Linked DNA regions of Homo sapiens: all the other regions are linked to region 5. The links are contacts of gene promoters, found by promoter capture Hi-C in blood cells and fetal thymus (Javierre and others, 2016). All regions are on one chromosome and are shown on one strand. Each heading gives the region's core, a stretch centred on a gene start or on the middle of the fragment in contact. The rest is flanking DNA. Distances are from core to core; before and after follow the strand shown.

The links. The method cuts DNA at HindIII sites, captures the fragments that hold promoters and counts their contacts. A CHiCAGO score of 5 or more calls a contact.
Region 1: a fragment that was not itself captured here is called in contact with the fragment with the promoter of MICOS10-DT in region 5 in 10 of 17 cell types (naive CD8 T cells, total CD8 T cells, non-activated CD4 T cells and 7 more); the score reaches 8.5 in naive CD8 T cells.
Region 2: a fragment that was not itself captured here is called in contact with the fragment with the promoter of MICOS10-DT in region 5 in 1 of 17 cell types (naive CD4 T cells); the score reaches 6.3 in naive CD4 T cells.
Region 3: a contact is called between a fragment that was not itself captured here and the fragment with the promoter of MICOS10-DT in region 5, in 10 of 17 cell types (fetal thymus, naive CD8 T cells, non-activated CD4 T cells and 7 more). The highest score is 10.7, in fetal thymus.
Region 4: a contact is called between a fragment that was not itself captured here and the fragment with the promoter of MICOS10-DT in region 5, in 15 of 17 cell types (naive CD8 T cells, activated CD4 T cells, naive B cells and 12 more). The highest score is 14.1, in naive CD8 T cells.
Region 6: a contact is called between a fragment that was not itself captured here and the fragment with the promoter of MICOS10-DT in region 5, in 13 of 17 cell types (naive CD8 T cells, non-activated CD4 T cells, activated CD4 T cells and 10 more). The highest score is 14.8, in naive CD8 T cells.

What each region holds. Positions count from the first base shown.
Region 1 is chr1:19,366,589-19,369,288 of GRCh38, forward strand. All of the region lies in intron 4 of CAPZB (capping actin protein of muscle Z-line subunit beta), which reads right to left. Among named protein-coding and RNA genes, the nearest start is that of SLC66A1, 56 kb to the left of the region's middle. The HindIII fragment of the contact is 8,481 bases long and covers 1-2,700 here.
Region 2 is chr1:19,463,712-19,466,528 of GRCh38, forward strand. All of the region lies in intron 1 of CAPZB (capping actin protein of muscle Z-line subunit beta), which reads right to left. Among named protein-coding and RNA genes, the nearest start is that of CAPZB, 20 kb to the right of the region's middle. The HindIII fragment of the contact is 1,387 bases long and covers 563-1,949 here.
Region 3 is chr1:19,405,218-19,407,968 of GRCh38, forward strand. All of the region lies in intron 2 of CAPZB (capping actin protein of muscle Z-line subunit beta), which reads right to left. Among named protein-coding and RNA genes, the nearest start is that of CAPZB, 79 kb to the right of the region's middle. The HindIII fragment of the contact is 636 bases long and covers 1,026-1,661 here.
Region 4 is chr1:19,382,565-19,385,487 of GRCh38, forward strand. The region is part of intron 3 of CAPZB (capping actin protein of muscle Z-line subunit beta); the gene reads right to left. Among named protein-coding and RNA genes, the nearest start is that of SLC66A1, 72 kb to the left of the region's middle. The HindIII fragment of the contact is 879 bases long and covers 1,210-2,088 here.
Region 5 is chr1:19,595,399-19,598,258 of GRCh38, forward strand. It overlaps MICOS10-DT (MICOS10 divergent transcript), which reads right to left and starts at 1,434. Exons shown (of 2, transcript NR_135054.1): 1 at 1,312-1,434. It overlaps MICOS10-NBL1 (MICOS10-NBL1 readthrough), which reads left to right and starts at 1,581. Exons shown (of 4, transcript NM_001204089.2): 1 at 1,581-1,711. MICOS10 (mitochondrial contact site and cristae organizing system subunit 10) reads left to right here and starts at 1,581. Exons shown (of 4, transcript NM_001032363.4): 1 at 1,581-1,711. The coding sequence starts at 1,648. RefSeq lists an enhancer at 1,374-1,673 and a silencer at 1,794-2,003. The HindIII fragment of the contact is 2,967 bases long and covers 969-2,860 here.
Region 6 is chr1:19,423,938-19,426,637 of GRCh38, forward strand. The region is part of intron 1 of CAPZB (capping actin protein of muscle Z-line subunit beta); the gene reads right to left. It also overlaps the pseudogene RN7SL277P. Among named protein-coding and RNA genes, the nearest start is that of CAPZB, 60 kb to the right of the region's middle. The HindIII fragment of the contact is 4,048 bases long and covers 1-2,700 here.

The sequences.
Region 1 (2,700 bases), core at 40-2,539, 230 kb before region 5:
GAGACAGGAGAATTGCTTGAACCCGGGAGGCAGAGGTTATAGTGCCTTGAGATGGCGCCACTGCACTCCAGCCTGAGCAAAAAGAGCGAGACTCCATCTCAAAAGAAACAACAACAACAAACAAACAGAAACTCCCAAGCTCCATGACTGATTTTATGGCAAAGAGGAAGAGAATAAAACCCAGAGGCAGAGCCATTCCCCGGCAGCTGAGGTTCTGGCCCTAAAACAATGCCTTTTTGTTCCCTCCTAGGGTAAAAAAGAAACTAAAATCCCCAGCTATCAGCAGTAGTTTGTTTTTCTGATCATCCTTAACATCCTTACAACAAAACAGGCACCTGGTCTTCACAGGTGGGAACAATCCAACTCCACCTCAGGAAAAAGAGAAAACTGTCCATTCTGCTCAGAGGGGCATCCAAAACCTGGCTCCCTTCCTCGTGGTGTAGACCAACGTTCCTTTTTGCTCTGCTGGCTGCCATCTAGCCAACTTCAAAAAGAAGCTGAGCGCATCCCCTGTCCAATGGATGGGCGTGGGTGCTGCCCAGTGGGCACAATGTTGCAAAGTCCAGAGAGCTGCAGACGGCACACGAGGGGCTGGAGAGTGTGGGTTCTCTTCCTTACACTGGTTATACCAGCCTGCACTCAAGATGCATCTGGCAAACAAGCATGAGGAGATATAAGGAAGATCACAAGAAAAAAATGAACGGGCAAGCACTTGCCATGGCACCTGGCAGAGCAAGCACTCAACAAGTGGTGGCTGCTGGTTTTCATCAGGCTCTTACTTTCTGAACAGAGGGGAGGAGAAGGCAACCTCGACGTGTTGTGAGCTGCCCTGGAAGTGTCCGTCAGAAACACAAAGTGCCGCTTACTGGGAGCGGTTCCGTACCCACTGGCACAGGCTCCACACAAAATGGAGAAAGATCAATGCTTGGCTTTGGGCGGGCCATGTCCAGAGCTGATGCTGAAACTCAACCACCCTTGTTTGTGTGTTGAGACCAGCTGTTTTCACCATGGTTTAGGGAACACGGCCCAGAGGCTGCCCATGGACACGGGACAGGTATTCAGCGGAAATTCCTTCCAGTACACACAGGTGCAACAATCCCCCGAGTCAACATACCAATCAGCTTAGGCATGTGCGACTTTAATGCCAGCTGCACTTAGAAGGCACATCTGGACTGTGGCTGCCGCGCTTTAGTGTCTCGCTTTTACGAGGCTTTTATTTTTTTACTTAAAGAAATAATGAAGGCCTCTCTGGAAACAATGGTGCCGCTGCAGGGGCCGGCTATCTGGCTCTGGGATCTGGTTTTGGGATCTGGCCAAACTGTCCACACTTGGCACCACTGCGACTGTCTTCTGCCCTCTGGACTACTTGTGAAAACACTGCTGGCCCCATGGAGCTACCTCATGAGCCGTCAACAGTCAGGGCTTTCTGGGCTTCCAAGTCATCACTCTCATCCAAAGCTGCCATTGTTGAGAACTCATTCTGTGTCAGGGGCTTTGCATATCTTTTTTTTACAGTTAAGAAAACTGTAACCCAGAGAGATAAGGAACGTGCCCAAGTCACAGGCTGAGAAGCAGGGATCTGGGAGTAGATGTCAGGCTTGGCTGGCCCCAGTGCCCATATTCTGCCCCATGCCAGGCTGCCTGGCCATCCTGAGACGTGCCAGCTGTGGTGGGATGGAGCGCAGGCGGACAGAACAGGGTCAGCCAGTAGGTTAGATGCCCGTATGAAGCCACACCACTGAACACACAGCTGCCCCAAAGAGGAGAAAGTCAGGCCAAGTGCAGTGGCTCATGCCTGTAATCCCCAGCACTTTGGGAGGCCAAGATGGGAGGATCACTTGAGGCCAGGAGTTTGAGACCAGCCTGGGCAACAGAGTGAGAGCCCCCGTCTCCATTTTTTTTCTTGGAAAAAAAAAAAAAAAAAAACGGTGGAGAGAGTCCGAGTTAAAAAAGGAACCCGCTGGGTGACCAGGAATCCGGGACATGCCCCGAGCACCCTGTACTGGGGATTTTGGAGGGTTCTCTGCCTCACTGAGGCAGCTGGGGCTGCTGGCTGGGTCACTGCAAGAATGCCTTTTTTTTTTTTTTTTTTAATTAGACATGGGGTCTCTCTCTGTCACCCAGGCAGAAGTGTGGTGGTGGGACCATAGTTCACTGCAGCCTCCACCTTCTGGGCTCAAGTGATGCTCCCACCTCAGCCCCCAGACACTGAGATTACAGGTGTGAGCCACTGTGCCCCACCGCACCTATTCTTGATACTTGCACAAAGCAGTTTTCCATCACAGAAGCCTCGGAAACATCTCAGTGAGGGGAGTGCAGGGTCTCTGGCAGGATGGGGGAGCTTGACCAAGGGAGGGAGCTGGTCCCTGCTTCCAGCAGCAGAGTTTCACTCCAACATGTGCAACGGCCCAAACCAAAGAGTGACTGTGTGCCATCTGGTTAGAGGAACCCAAGAATTCTAGAGGCATCAGAGTCCCTGATGCTGACGTGGGGATCATGTTCATAAGCAAACTTGTTTTCTGCACACTCCTGTTTTCCATTTAACTTTCTTTCAGCAGATGAAAATCAGACTGCACATGCCAAGCAACCAGACACTGGCCTGCAGCCTTGGGATGCCAGATGAAAGGGAACCCCAGGACAGGGGGCAACATGCAAGCCTGTCTAGATCCACTCTTTAGGGACTTGATAACTGTAGCAGAC
Region 2 (2,817 bases), core at 6-2,505, 130 kb before region 5:
CCTGGGACACTAGAACACATGGCCAAGTTATAAAGACTTCATATGCATCTTCTCATCTGGAGGTGAGGCCCTTTCAAAGCACACAGGGTGGAGAAACGTGGATAATATTTCACCCTCTATGTTAAAAAGAGGAGAAATGAAATATATTTGTATTTGCTTGTTATGCCTAAAGAAATGAGGACAGCAGGCCAGGCACGGTGGCTTATGCCTGTAATCCCAACATTTTGGAAGGTCAAGGTGGGCAGATCACTTGAGACCAGGAGTTTGAGCCGGGCCAACATGGTGAACCCCTATCTCTACTAAAAATACAAAAAAAAAAAAAAAAATTAGCTGGATGTGGTGGTGCACACCTGTAATCTCAGCTACTCAGGAGGCTGAGGCAGGAGAATTGCTTTAACCTGGGAGACAGAGGTTGTAGTGAGCCAAGATCATGCCACTGCACTCCAGCCTGGGCAACAGAGCAAGACTCTGTCGAAAAAGGGAAGAAAGAAAAGAGAAAAGAAAGAGAGGAGCAAAGGAGGAAAGGAAGAAAGAAAACCGAAAAAGAAAAAGTCCACATAAAAGCTTATCTCTGAAGATTTTTTTTTTTTTTTTTTTTGAGATGGAGTCTCGCTCTGTCGCCCAGGCTGGAGTGCAGTGGTGCAATCTCGGCTCACTGCAAGCTCCACCTCCCGGGTTCACGCCATTCTCCTGCCTCAGCCTCCCGAGTAGCTGGGACTACAGGTGCCCGCCACCATGCCCGGCTAATTTTTTGTATTTCTAGTAGAGACGGGGTTTCACCGTTGTTAGCCAGGATGGTCTCGATCTCTTGACCTCGTGATCCACCCGCCTCGGCCTCCCAAAATGCTGGGATTACAGGTGTAAGCCACCGCACCCGGCCCTATCTGTGAAGATTTATAACAGATTTACTCTCAACATCCAAAAACTGGAGGCAACCCAAATGTTCATCAACTGCTGAATGGTACGTCCATACCATGGAATACTATGGAATGCTCTACAGCAAGAAAAGGAAATATTAATACATGCAACATGAATGAATCAAATAAATCATGTTACACGAAAGAGGTCAAACACAAAAGACTCCATACTATCTGCTTCCATTTATTTACAATTATAGAAAAGGCAAAACCGCGGTGACAAAGCAGATCAGTGGTTGTCTAGGGATGGGGAACAAGGCTGTCTAGGAGGGGGAAAAGGGCCAAAGGGGCATGAAGGGACTTTTTAGGGTGAGGAAACTGTTCTATAACTCGATTGTGGTGGTGGCAACATGATTAGTACCAAAACTCAAACTGTACACTTAAAGCTGGTTAATTTTATTACTTGCAAATAATACCCTGATTAAAAACAAAAAAAAGAAGACCCTAGAAATCTTAGCTGTGGTTGGCAGGGGAGAGTGGAAGACACTGGGCATGTGAGAAGAGAAGGCAGTGTTTTATGTGTGTTGTGGTCTGAATGCTGGTACCCCCTCAAAATTCATATGCTGAAACATAATCCCCAATGCCAGAGTTAAGAGGTGAGGCCTTTAAGAGGTGATTAGATCATGAGGGCCCCACCTTCATGAATGACATTAATGCCCCTATAAGAGGCCCAGGGGAGCTGGCCAGCCCCTTCCACCATGTGAGGCGCTGTCTATGATGCAGAGAACAAGCCTTTGCCAAACACTGAGTCTGCCAAGACCTTGCTTACGGACTTCCCAGCCTTCAGAACTGTGAGTAATCAATTTCTGTTGTGTACAAATTATTCAGTTTAAGGTATTTGTTCCAGGAGCCCAAACAGACTAAGACAATGTATATATTTTTATTTTTGAAACCTGTGACTGAATTGCCTATTCCAAACTTGAGCTCTAATTCTTTCAAAGCCAACTGCAGAGGTGACTCTGTGCAATGGCTCAGGTAGAAGTGGTGTGGTCCATTGCTGGGTTCCTGTTGGTCAGGGATATAGGCACCAAAAGCTTAGAGGGTGGGGAGAATGAAAACCTCTGGATCTAACCAGAGCTGAATGTAGAAAACCATCTATCTCCTCTCCTCCCAGAAGCCAGTGCCTCCTGTCCTGGGCCTCTGGGCTCATGTGATAAAGACAAGAGCTACCATTTATTGGGCACTTACTATGTCCCAGGTGCTACGACTCATTTGACGTGCATTAACTCATTAACAGTGATAAGACCAACAACATGTACGGAGCCCTATATGTGCTAGGTATGACAGGCCTTCTTACCTGCTTGACCTCATTTAATTAGCCTCAAATCGATCCTATGACAAGGAACCAGTCCCAGAGAGTTAAGTGAAGCCCAAGGCTACACAGCTAAAAGTGTAAGGGAACAAAGATTTAAACCCAGGCAGTCTGGCCCCAGGAGCCCAGCTACCATCCATGACCAAGGACAACCCTTTTATTGGGACAGAGGCGACACTAATCACTGCACGCACTTAGGCTGAGGTGTGGTGGGTGGAGGATCAGACTCAGAGGTGAATCTGTGCTCCTGGCCTACTCCACCAGCTCCACAGCTCCGCCAGGAGGGTCTTTCACTCCCACACTGGGGAGGCAGAGCCAGATGCATGGAGCTATTCAAGGTCCTGCCTAGCTCCAAAGCCCTTACTCTTTGCACTAGACCAGGCTGCTTCCTTGGCTAATAAACAGTGAGAGCTGAAACCCAAACAAAAACAAGCAGCACACGTGAAGACAAAATGTTCCTGAGCTGCAACGTTTTTCAATCTTTTGAGCTCATAGATCACATGTCTAGGTCAGAGTCCTGAGCTTCCTCACGGCGCAGGTGATGTGAGAGGGGCTGAGTAACCTCGAGGTACCACTGAATGGCATCCT
Region 3 (2,751 bases), core at 94-2,593, 190 kb before region 5:
ATATTTATTTGTGGCCATATCGACATGTGGCCAGGCACTGTGTTAGGGTCTGGGGATAGAGGTGAGCATCATGGCATCCCGCAGGTGCTCGGAAGCCAGAGGGCCCTCCAGTGCTAAGAGTACAGTTACAGCACACAGCAGTGCTTTCAGTGCGTTAGATAAAACGTGGAGATTTGGCTGCCCCTACAGGCAGCGTTTGGGACTAGGAAGGTCAATGAGACAGGAAAACAATGCGGGCGAAGAAGTATTAAGCCTCTTTAAAACACCTGATGTACATATCTCCTCTACTCCCAACTGATGTTCAACACATAGCTAGAAAGAGGCAAAAAAAAAAAAAAAAAAAAAAAATCCCCTTGTATGAAGGATAATCCTTTCAGCCTGGGGCAAATCTCCTGAAGAGTTTTGTTCTGAACTAGGAGTGTTGTTTTAGCTTCCAGTCAATAGTAATTAAGAGTCCCAATATATTCCAGAAAGAGGGAGAGGGAGATTAACGATCATTAAATCTCTTCTGCATTTGGCTCCAAATCTCTTTTCGGAGGGGCCGGCTGTCAGATGATCCCTCCAAAGCGTCCATCTGACAGCACTCCCGCCGCCACCATCTGGAACATCAATTCGAGAGCTCGCCTGAAGGTTTCAATTACATAAAAGGCAATGGGCCCATTAGGACCCGAGAGTCTGGAGCTTCACAAGCGCTGCTCACACCCCCTCTCCTGTACACAAAGCCTCTAGAATTTGGTTGGCAGTCATTTGCAAAGGGACTCATTTTGGTGGGGGCATGGGGCTGGCCAGCCCCTTGGCAAGGCCTCTCTCAGGCAGGCTCTGTGCGTGCTATGACTGACAGGGTCTCTAATGAACCTTAATTGTGAGCTCGACAGGCCCAGGAAGGCAGCCACAGATGTGGCAAAGGGCAACCGCAAACCGTCTGATTAGTGAATAAGAAGTGTCCGGCCCAGTGAGGGCCAATGACCCAAAAAAGGAGGAGGGCGGGACTATTCCTCCCCCACGCATCCCTTCTAAAGCTCTGAAGCTTCTTTATGTAAGCAATGCAAAGCCTCTGGGTGCACTGGAACCCAACGCACCCCTCCCCCCGGCACTACTGCTTGGCAGCTGGCAGCTGGGATGTTGGGGTCTTGTGCTTGTTACCACGGATGCTTCCGTCTCCATCAGCAGTGCACCTTTAACCACAGGAGGCCAGAACAGAACGCCCTTTCAACGTGGGAAGGGGGAAGCTACCCACTACGGAGACTGAGTAACTTCTTGCCGGTGCTAAGAATTGTGAAGACAGCTGCATTCAGAGTCAGCCATCCTCTGGTGACCTGCAGTGACAAGGAGAAAGCTACTCCTGGGGCAGCTTTGGGCACAAACAGCGTGACGGAGAAGACAGGCTTTGCAGACGGGTAGATCCCAACTCTGCTCCTTACTAATTAGCTGTGAGGCTTGGACCAACTCATGAAACCTCACTTGGTTTCCTCATCTGTAAAATGGGCATAAAAGATCAACCTTGTGGTGTGCAGTTTAAATAAGCAAAGGGTCTGGAACAGTACCTGGCACACGATAGTCATCTCTTAAAACCCGGGAGAACAGCAGAGTATTTTGCGCAAGTTTGACATGACCTCAGAACTCCATGCAGACAGCTACTACAAGCCAGGTACTATGCTAGAAGCTTTACACCCCCCATCTCTCATTCTTGAAGTTAGTGTCATGCCCATCTCACAGATGAGGAAACTGAGGCTCAGTGGTCACACAGCTAAGACGTGGTAAAGACAAGAGCTGAACAGGATTGTGCCTTTCGATTTCAAGGCACTCCACTATCAACTTCAATGCTCCTAACCAAGCATTTCAGGCATCCTCAGACTAACAGCCTAGAAACACCTAACCAAGAATTTTGTAGAATTTGAATTCCCAAATACACCAAAACAGGCTTCTCTGGCCTGGCATATAAAGGTGTGGTAGGGGGCACTAAATGGCCAATCTGTTTCCAAGGAAGTCTGCAAAACAAATGAGGACTCCACTTCCAGCCTTGGTCTGCTTCTTGGCTAGTGGCACCTCACAAGCATTTTCTGCATCAGGGTCATGAATAGGTAGCAGCAGGTGAGCTGCTAAAATAGCCTCCCCACCAGAAAGCAGTCCCAGGAGAGGCCCAGAGATACAGAACAGAGGCCCATCACTGGGAGGTTGTGTAGGACCCTCACACATAGACTGGGGGGCTCTCAAGCTGGGGAAAAGGGTACCTGGGGGGAGACTAGAGATGTAGGTTCAAGAAGGGGACAAGAGATTCAGAGGAAAGAGGAGCAAGAGGTGAGCAGTGCTGATAAGGAAGAGGGTAAATGGCAAGGAAGCTGGGAAACCGACAGAAAGGATCCTGAGGACCCAGGTTTCACAGGTGACCTGGCACCTCTGGAAGGCTGAGGATTGAGGGGTCTGATGACCTGGGAGGCTGCAAGGCTGGCTTGTCCTTGGACACTGAGATCAACCTAAGACTCCTTCCTGCCGCCTTAGACCATCCAGCCACGCTCTTGTCTAGCTTTCTCTCCCAGGGCTTCCGAAGACTTTCCCAATGATAACCGGGGTCAGCTCCTCATTCAGGGAGCAGAAGCAGGAAGAAAAGTGCCTAGCAAGCAATCAGGAAGAGGAGGGGGAGAGACCCTCACCAGGGCGGACTGTGCAGCTGGTGTCAGATGACCCTTATCTCTGCAGAATGGAAACCAGCCAGCCAAAGTCTGGAGGCTCACCTTCTGACCTCCATGACTC
Region 4 (2,923 bases), core at 399-2,898, 210 kb before region 5:
GAAAGACATACTTTCTGCCTCCACACCCCAGGCTCCTCTCTAAAGGCCTGAGATCCCCCAGAGCTGGTGGTAGGGCCTCAGGAATGCAGGTGGGGGACAAAGGGGTGACCTGGAAGGGCTGCAGGTACCAAGTCTCCCGCAGAGCCTGGCCTAGCCACGGACCTAGACATGATCCCGTCCTTCCACCAGCTCCTGCAGAACAGCTGCCTTACACAGTCAACTGGAGTTTTTAGGTGGAAATAATAAATATAATAATGATGTTGATTAAGCAAGACCAGTTCAAGGAACACCTCCTCCAGGAAGCGTTCCCTGAACTGCATGCCGGGCGAGAATACTTCTCCCTGCCTGCTCCCTGGTCTGTCAGACCACTCACCATCTTCACTGGACTTCTCTCTCTAAGGGCTGGTCCACCCACTTCATCAGTGGCTCCCTGGCTGGGCAATGTGGCTCACACCTGTAATCCTAGCAATTTGGGAAGCTGAAGTGGGAGGACTGCTTGAACCTAGGAGTTCGAGGCCAGCCTGGGCAACAAAATGAGGCCCCCATCTCTACAAAAAAAAAAAAAAAAGGAGAGAGAAAAAGTCAAAAAAATTAGCTGGGGCTGGGCGCAGTGGCTCATGCCTATAATCCTGACATTTTGGGAAGCCAAGGCAGGAGGATCATTTGAGGTCAGGAGTTCAAGACCAGCCTGGCCAACGTGGTGAAACCCTGTCTGCACTGAAAATACAAAGACTAGCTGGGAGCGATGGCGTACACCCGTAATCCCAGCTACTTGGGAGGCTGAGGCAGGAGAATCTGCTTGAACCCAGGAGACAGAGGTTGCAGTGAGCTGAGATCGTGCCACTGCACTCCAACCTGGACAACAGAGTGAGACTCTGTCTCAAAAAAAAAAAAAAAAAAAATTAGCTGGGCATGGTGATACATGCCTATGGTCTTGTGCAGGGGGCCATGTTCGCATCACTGCACTACAGCCTGGGCGACAGAGCAAGATGCTCCCAAGGACAGCACCTGGACGCCATGCTGTGACCAGCAGTTCCAGGCACAGAATGAGCCCTTCAAGGATGAATTTGATCGGCCTCAGGGCTGTATCACCATCTATATGCTGGGACATCTGCAGCCACATCCCCAGCCTAAACCTCTCTCCTGGAACTCCACATGGTACATCCACAGCCTACCTGGTATCTCCACTTTGATCTAATGGGCCTCTCAAGCTTAAAGTGTCCCTATGCCTGCTCCTCCCCGAGTCCTCCTCACCTCAATCAACAGTGGCTCAGGTCCGAAGCCTTGTAATCACCCTTCACACCCCACCTCCTCTTCTTCCATCCCCACCTACCTGCAGAGGCCGCTGGCTCTACTTTTAAAAGTGACCTCAAATCTCACCACTTCTCACCATTTCAACTCTAGTCTGTGGTCTGAAGGAGGGCAAAATATAATCTCTACCTAATTTCCATTTAAAGCCAGGAAAGGGACATGATTATAAAACTGTTGTCTAGTCTCTTATAAGTCAGTATTAAACTTTTTAAGTATATGACAATGTCTGTGCCATTCAACATTTCACGTGTGTTACTTCTTTTATCCCCCCAATAAATAACCCTGTGCTAACTTTTATTACCCTCAGCCTGGCCTTCAAGACCCTGCCAGACCTGCCCTGGCCATGCCTCCTCCCTCATCTCCGCCCCCACTGCCCTCCCCTCACTGCCTTCTCCACCTCTGGCCTTCTGCCAGCTCCATCCTGGTGAGCTCATCACCCAGGGCCTCAGCACCCAGCAGGCTCTTCCCCAGACCTGGACCTTTTCATCCTCCAGTTCCCACTTGTGGGAGAGCCTTCCCTGCCTGCCCGTCCTCTCCCTCCCTCCCACTGTCCTCTTTATTTTCTTCAGGAAGCATTCTGTTGAGTAAAGAAACACTACTATTTCCGTTTTACAGATGACAAAACTAAAAGACCAGCGACAATAAGTGATTTGTCAAAGTCCCATTGACACAGGGAGCTGTGCTGGTTTGAAGCCCACACTGGCTGACTCCTGATCATTTTTCCTGCTTTGACTTCCCAGAAGCCTTGCCCCATCTCCAAAGAGAGCATCAGGGTGAAGCTTCAAGACAACCCTGGTTCTGTGGTCTCCAAATAAACCTAAAGCAGGCTGTGTTCCTCTACCATTCTCCAAGGCAGTGACTACTGCAATTCATCATGGAAACACTGGGCCAGTTTAAGGATTCCCACTCTTAAAAAATAGAGGTATAACTCCTACATGCCCTTAAAACCCAGCTCAGACATCACCTCCTTCAGGAAGTCCTCCTGGAGTTGACCATGGCCTCTTCTGTGCTACCGTCCCACCCTGAACAGACTTTGCACTGGCTGTATGAATCACATCATACAGTTACCAGTTACCCAATGTGTCTCCTATGCTAGACCTGGTGATCAGACACCCAGGGCAGGGACTAATGTCAACTTAGTTATTTACAGCCTTGGGCGAGGTGACGGAAAGAGAGAGGAGAGTTGTGTATCTGACAGAGCTGCGTTCGTAGATCCCTTACCACAGAGACCCTCCCAGCCCTCAGGATCCCCATCATATGCGCACCCTGTACACTGCCCTCCGCAGGACTGAATGCAATTATAATAGAACAGTTGTTTTTGAACAACATCCCTCTCCCGTTAGACTGGAAGATCCATGAAGGCAGGGGGCCTTTGGTCCGCTGCTCTATCTCTCATGCTTGTGGGTGGCACTCTTCAAACGTCTGCTGCATGATTGGAATAACAGATGGAACGATGAGAAGAATGGGGAGGACAAGAGAAGAAAGGAGAGGAGGGCAGGGAACAAACGGAAGGAAAGCTGAATGGGCTGCCAGCTGCCCAAGTCCAAGGTCCCCGTGCTCTGCAGCAGGTACCTACGGCAGCCCGCGTGTGCCTGCTGTGCCTGCTGCATCC
Region 5 (2,860 bases), core at 184-2,683:
TTGTGATAGGGTATCACTCTGATGCCCAGGCTGGAGTGCAGTGGCATGAACATGGCTCAGTGTAGCCTCCACTTCCCAGGCTCAAGTGATCCTCCTACCTCAGCCTCCTAAGTAGCTGGGACTAAAGGCACACATCACATTAGCCTGGCTAATTTTTTAAATTTTTTGTAGAGACAGGAGTCTCACTATGCTGCCTAGGCTGGTCTTGAACTACTGGCCTCAAACAATCCTCCCGCCTCAGCCTCCCAGAGTGTTGGGATTACAGGTGTGAGCCACTGCTCTCGGCCTTCATTGACAGCTTCTAATCAGAGGCATAACGTGGTCAGATTTCTATTTGTTGGTAGGATGGAAGACTAAAATCAATGACACTAGCCAGTAGGCTGGATATACAATCTCTCTTGATAGCTGTGGGCATTTGGTTTCAGGATCTCGCAGTTACCAAAATGCAGGATGCTCAAGTCCCATATATAAAATGGCGTGGTATTTGCATACAACCTACACACATGCTTACATATCCTTTTTTAAAATTACTTATTTTTTTTTAAAGAGATGAAGTCGAACTCCTAGTCTCAAGCAATCCTCCCATCTCAGCCTCCCAAGTAGCTGGGACTACGGTCGCATGCCACTGCGCTGGCTCCCATATACTTTAAATCATCTCTAGGTTACTTATAATACCTAATACAATGTAAATCCTAGGTAAATAGTTGTACTGTATTTTAAATTTTGCATTATTTTTTATTTGATTCAAAAATGTTTCTGGTCCATGGTTGGTTAAATCCATGGATGCAAAACCCACAGATACAGAGGGCACCCTGTGTATGTATGTGTATGTGTGTGTGTGTGTGGGTGGGTGTGTAAATATATACATGGATAGGAGGCCTGAGGTAGACGTTTTACCTGGAGATATAATTTGGCAGTGTTTGCAATTACTCAGGGAGAGTCTGTACAGTGAAAAGAGAATTGATGGAAGCTTGCGAACCAACAGTCCTTAAACAGCTGGCAGAGAAAAGGCAGCCCTGGAGGAAACCAACAGACAACAGCAGATGGGGAGAAGAGGAAAGAGTGGCGTTACCGGGAGTGAAACGAATAGAGGAGCCAGGGAGGATCAGAGGGAGGGAAAATTGTGTGGAATGCGGTACAGAGGTCAGAAAAGAGTCCATTTGATTTGGCGGTAGGTAATCTTTCCCAGAGCAGTTTCGGTGTTAGTGGTTCAGGCGGGAATTCCAATGCAAGAAACCAGTGAACGAATGAGAGAGTGAGTAGGGAAAGTGAAGGTGAGTACGTTAATGAATGAATAAATCAAGTCTGTACCCTCTCTTGCCCGGGGGATTTCCAGGGCCAATGTCGCACTTTGGTGAGGAGGAAAGGCCTGGTCACGGCTTGGGGTGACGCCTAGGAAACTGTCAGCCTCGCAAACCCATAGGCGCAGCCCCAAGGTCAGGGTCACCTCGAGCCTCCAGACAACTCGTCACCTTGACGACCAACTGAAAAAACCGGAAGGGATGGAAGCAGCGGATCATCTCGCGATATCTGGAGCGTCTGCGCCTGCCTTCCTGACCTGGGACTTGTTTCCAGCTCTCGCGAGACTTTCAGGGGTCGGAGCGCGGGGGCCGGCCGAGAGGAAAGCTGGAGGCGCGGGTGGGGAACATGTCTGAGTCGGAGCTCGGCAGGAAGTGGGACCGGTGTCTGGCGGATGCGGTCGTGAAGATAGGTAAGGGGCTTTTCGCCCCAGCAGGCCCGGCCGGTGCAGAGCTGCTGGCTCCAGGCTGCGCTGCCCAGGAGGAAGGAAGGGAAGCCCCACGGGAGGTCAGGCCTCTCGGCCTTTTCCGGCCCCTCCGGCCAGGGCGAGCCGCCCGGGCCCCGGCGGGAGGTCACTCGGGCGGCGGGCACAGACCCGAGGAGCCGGAGCAGCAGCCCGGGTGCGGGGTGGAGTTGCAGCCCGGAGGAGGTGGTCGGGGTTGGCAGGTGGCAGGAGAGTCGCAGAGCTCTTGAGTGGAAGACAGTGTCGGGGCACACCCTCGTGCCGGAGCCGCGGGGTTCTCCTCCCGGGTGGTGCATTCCCCGGCACGCGGCGGGGAACCGGCTCAGGAGGCCACGCTGCTCCCCGGCGGAAACCAAAGTGCCTTCTGGAGAAGGTCACCTGGAGCATTTCATAGACACCGCCAGGCCCTGATGCGAGTTGCTGTCATTCCCGACTTGCCACCTGATTTATTTGAATCAGAGTAGTCTGGGGCCTGAACTTAGAGGGGTGATGATCTGGAATGAGAATTGCGCTGGAAAGTAAGAAGTTGTTCACGTTAAGTTTTTCTGCGTAGTCCTTTAACACGTGCTCAGTGACGGCACAAATTATGAAGTCACTGTATGGTGGGGAGGAGAAAGGAAACTCGTTTATTGAGCGTATATTGTCTTCATTGTGCGAAATAATCTTTTTACAGGCCGTGAAATGGAGAGTCAGGTGAAGGAATTTGCCCACGGTCACAGCTAACAAATGGCAAAATTAGGGATTTTACCCAGCTTTTCTGGGGTCAAGTCCCATGTTCCTTCTTCGATGCTAATTTTTGTTACCCAAATGTGATATTTTTGTGTGGTAATCTTAGGGTATTTAAGAGGATTTAGGATTGTGTCTTTGAATGAAAACATTGAGGAATAAGATTGTAAGCTCCATGAGAGCAGGGATGTTTTCTGGTTTAGTCACTGCCCCATCCCCAGCCCCTAAAAGAGTGCTTAATAAAAATTGTTGAGAGTGAGTCAATAAATGAAACAGTTTATAAGTTACCATTTCACCTCTGAATTCAGCACTTACAGTCAAGTGATTTGGGGCAAGTTATTTAACTTTTCTGTGCCTGATTCCTATTTGGAA
Region 6 (2,700 bases), core at 92-2,591, 170 kb before region 5:
AAGTGCTGGGATTACAGGCATGAGCCACCATGCCCAGCCAATTTTTCTATTTTTTGTAGAGATGGGGTTTTGCTATGTTGCCCAGGCTGGTCTCAAAGTCCTGAGCTCAAGCGATCCATCTGCCTCAGCCTCCCAAAGTGCTGGGTTTGCAGGCGTGAGCCACTGCACCTGGCCATGAACACTCTTATTATTTAGACACGTGTTTTAGACTAATATAACAAGGCTTTTTTTTTTCTTTAAGCCAAGACAAAGGTATGATAAATACAACATTTAAGAAGAGTAGAAGAGCAGTTCTAGGGAAGCCATGAGGGGAAGATGAAAGCTATACTGTCTAGGTCTCACATGGAATGGCAGGTTCAAGGGTATTCATCATCAACGTGATGCTTAAGTTATGATTATCAGATATCTAAACTTTTTTTAAAGGTAATAGAAAAAACTACAAGTATGCAGGGAGTGGTGGTGCGTGCCTGTAGTTCCGGCTACTCGGGAAGCTGAGGCAGGAGGATCGTTCAAGCCCAGGAGTTCTGGGTTGTAGTGTGCTATGCCCATCAGGTGTCCGCACTAAGTTTGGCATCAATATGGTGACTTCCTGGGAGCAGGGAACCACCAGGTTGCCTAAGGAGGGGTGAACCGGCCCAGGACAGAAACGGAGCAGGTCAAAAAATACAAGGAAGAGCAAGTAAAGAGAGGGCTTAGGACTCAGGAGTCCAGGGTCCAAGGTATGCCCTGTCACTAGACGTCTGTGTGCTTTGGACTGCTCACTTAACCTCGTGGCCTGGGATTTGGCCCAGATGAACTCTAAGACTCCTTCTAGATGGAGTGCCCTCTATCCTACTGCGAGAGCAGACATGCCTAACCGCCACACCCTTCAAAACAAGACCATCATCCTGGATTTGGCCGCTTGCAGGCCAGCAACTGGGCTACAGTTCAACAACTGTGCACTGAGTGCCAACCCTGGGCCAGGCCCTGAATCCGGCCCAACAAATGAGACCCAGTCCCAAGCCTCAAGGAACCAATTGTCCATAAAACAGCAAATAACCACAAGGTCGTGTGGTGTGTACAATGATGAGACAGAGAAGGTACAAAGAGACAAGGCACAGTTCACAATACACTGATTTGTACTTCTTTGTGTCAATTATTTTCCTAGGACTTCCCTCCCTCACATGGCTACAAAATAAACAGAAGGCCAGTCAGGGGAAGTAAACTGTCACCTGGTGGCTAAGAGCTCTCCACAGGCCAGCTCCTTCAAAACTCTGACTGGTCCAGGCACCTCCTTCATACAATGAGCTTCACCAGTTCCACCACCCAATGGTGTGTTCCAGGTGGAAAGGTAAATAGTAAAAGAAGGACCATTTCTCCTTATCCTCTGGAATTCTCTGTCCATTCAATTAATCATCTGATCATTATGTGAGTGTTTCCTAGGTAACAAGCACTGTTTCTGATGCTGAGTGGTGAACATAAAAGTCTCTGCTCCTCATGGAGCTTATGGTGCAGTCAAAATCAGTGTGGAAAAAAAAAATCAAGGAAGAGTCCTTGTTAGGATGTCAAATAATAAGGAGGGGAGTTACCCCATTTTAAGCTGGCAAGGCTCCAAGGGGTAGGTTTAGGGGGTTTTTTGTGTTATTTTCTTATTTTGGTATATAAACTGAGATAAGAAATATTTCACCTCCTGTTTTCACATGATTTAAAGAAAAAGCATAAAATTGCTTAAATCACCCTGCAATAAATAAAACCACCATTAATACGGACTAAAACAATTTTTCAGAATAAGAAATCAGTCAAATAAAACCCCACCATCTAAATATCTGCTACAGTGTTCAGACATCCGACGGTATTATGAAATCATCTGCATACAGGAAAACTTGGCCTACTAGGCAAACTCCAGGGCAAAGTCTGATTTGGAAACCATCAAGTGAGATGTAACCAGTACCTACACTCCAAGTTTGGTAGAGTAAACACACCATCTACAACAATGTCAATGTCAGAGTACAGGTGCCCACTAAGTAGGGCAGGGAGCCCCAGAAGATGTCTCAGAATGGGGCCACAGGAGCAGGTTAGCCCTGGATAAGCAGGTGTGCCTTTCCAGGCAGCAGGTGCAGCAGGCTAAGGAGAGGTGAGCCAGGTGCGTGGAGGAGGAGGTGGGGAACCATGGGGCATGGCCTGGGGAGGTGACTGGGGCCTTGTCACAAGAGCCAGATCACACCCAAACTACTCAGGGGGCAGCTATGCTGGCCCGAGGAGCTAGGCTCAGAATCTCACTTCTCCCCGCAGTTTTTTGCTCCTGTCCAGTTTATAGGTAAGGCATCTGTGCCACATTCTTTAAAATCCACTTTTCTGTGAAGGTTTTGGAGCCCCTAGAGATTTTTCCACAGGGGAATGACGACTGCTGTTGTGACTTAGAAGGCGAAGCAGATTATATTTTCCAAAAATGACCATAACAAGCAGTCCCATCCCACATGCTCCTCTTGCAGCGTGACTGTGACACTCCTCCCACTTGTGGTGGGGCGGGGGGGGGCTGTGTCCCCTCCGCCTTGGAACCGGAGGAGCTTTTGTAACTTTTTATCATCAGAGCCCAGCACAAATGATGCCCTATGACTTGTGAGCCCACAAGAGACAACGCGGCTTCTCCCTGCCTGCTAAACACACAGGCCTGGAGCCCACTCAACTGCCCCGAGGCCACCCTGTGCAGAAGACTTCCTG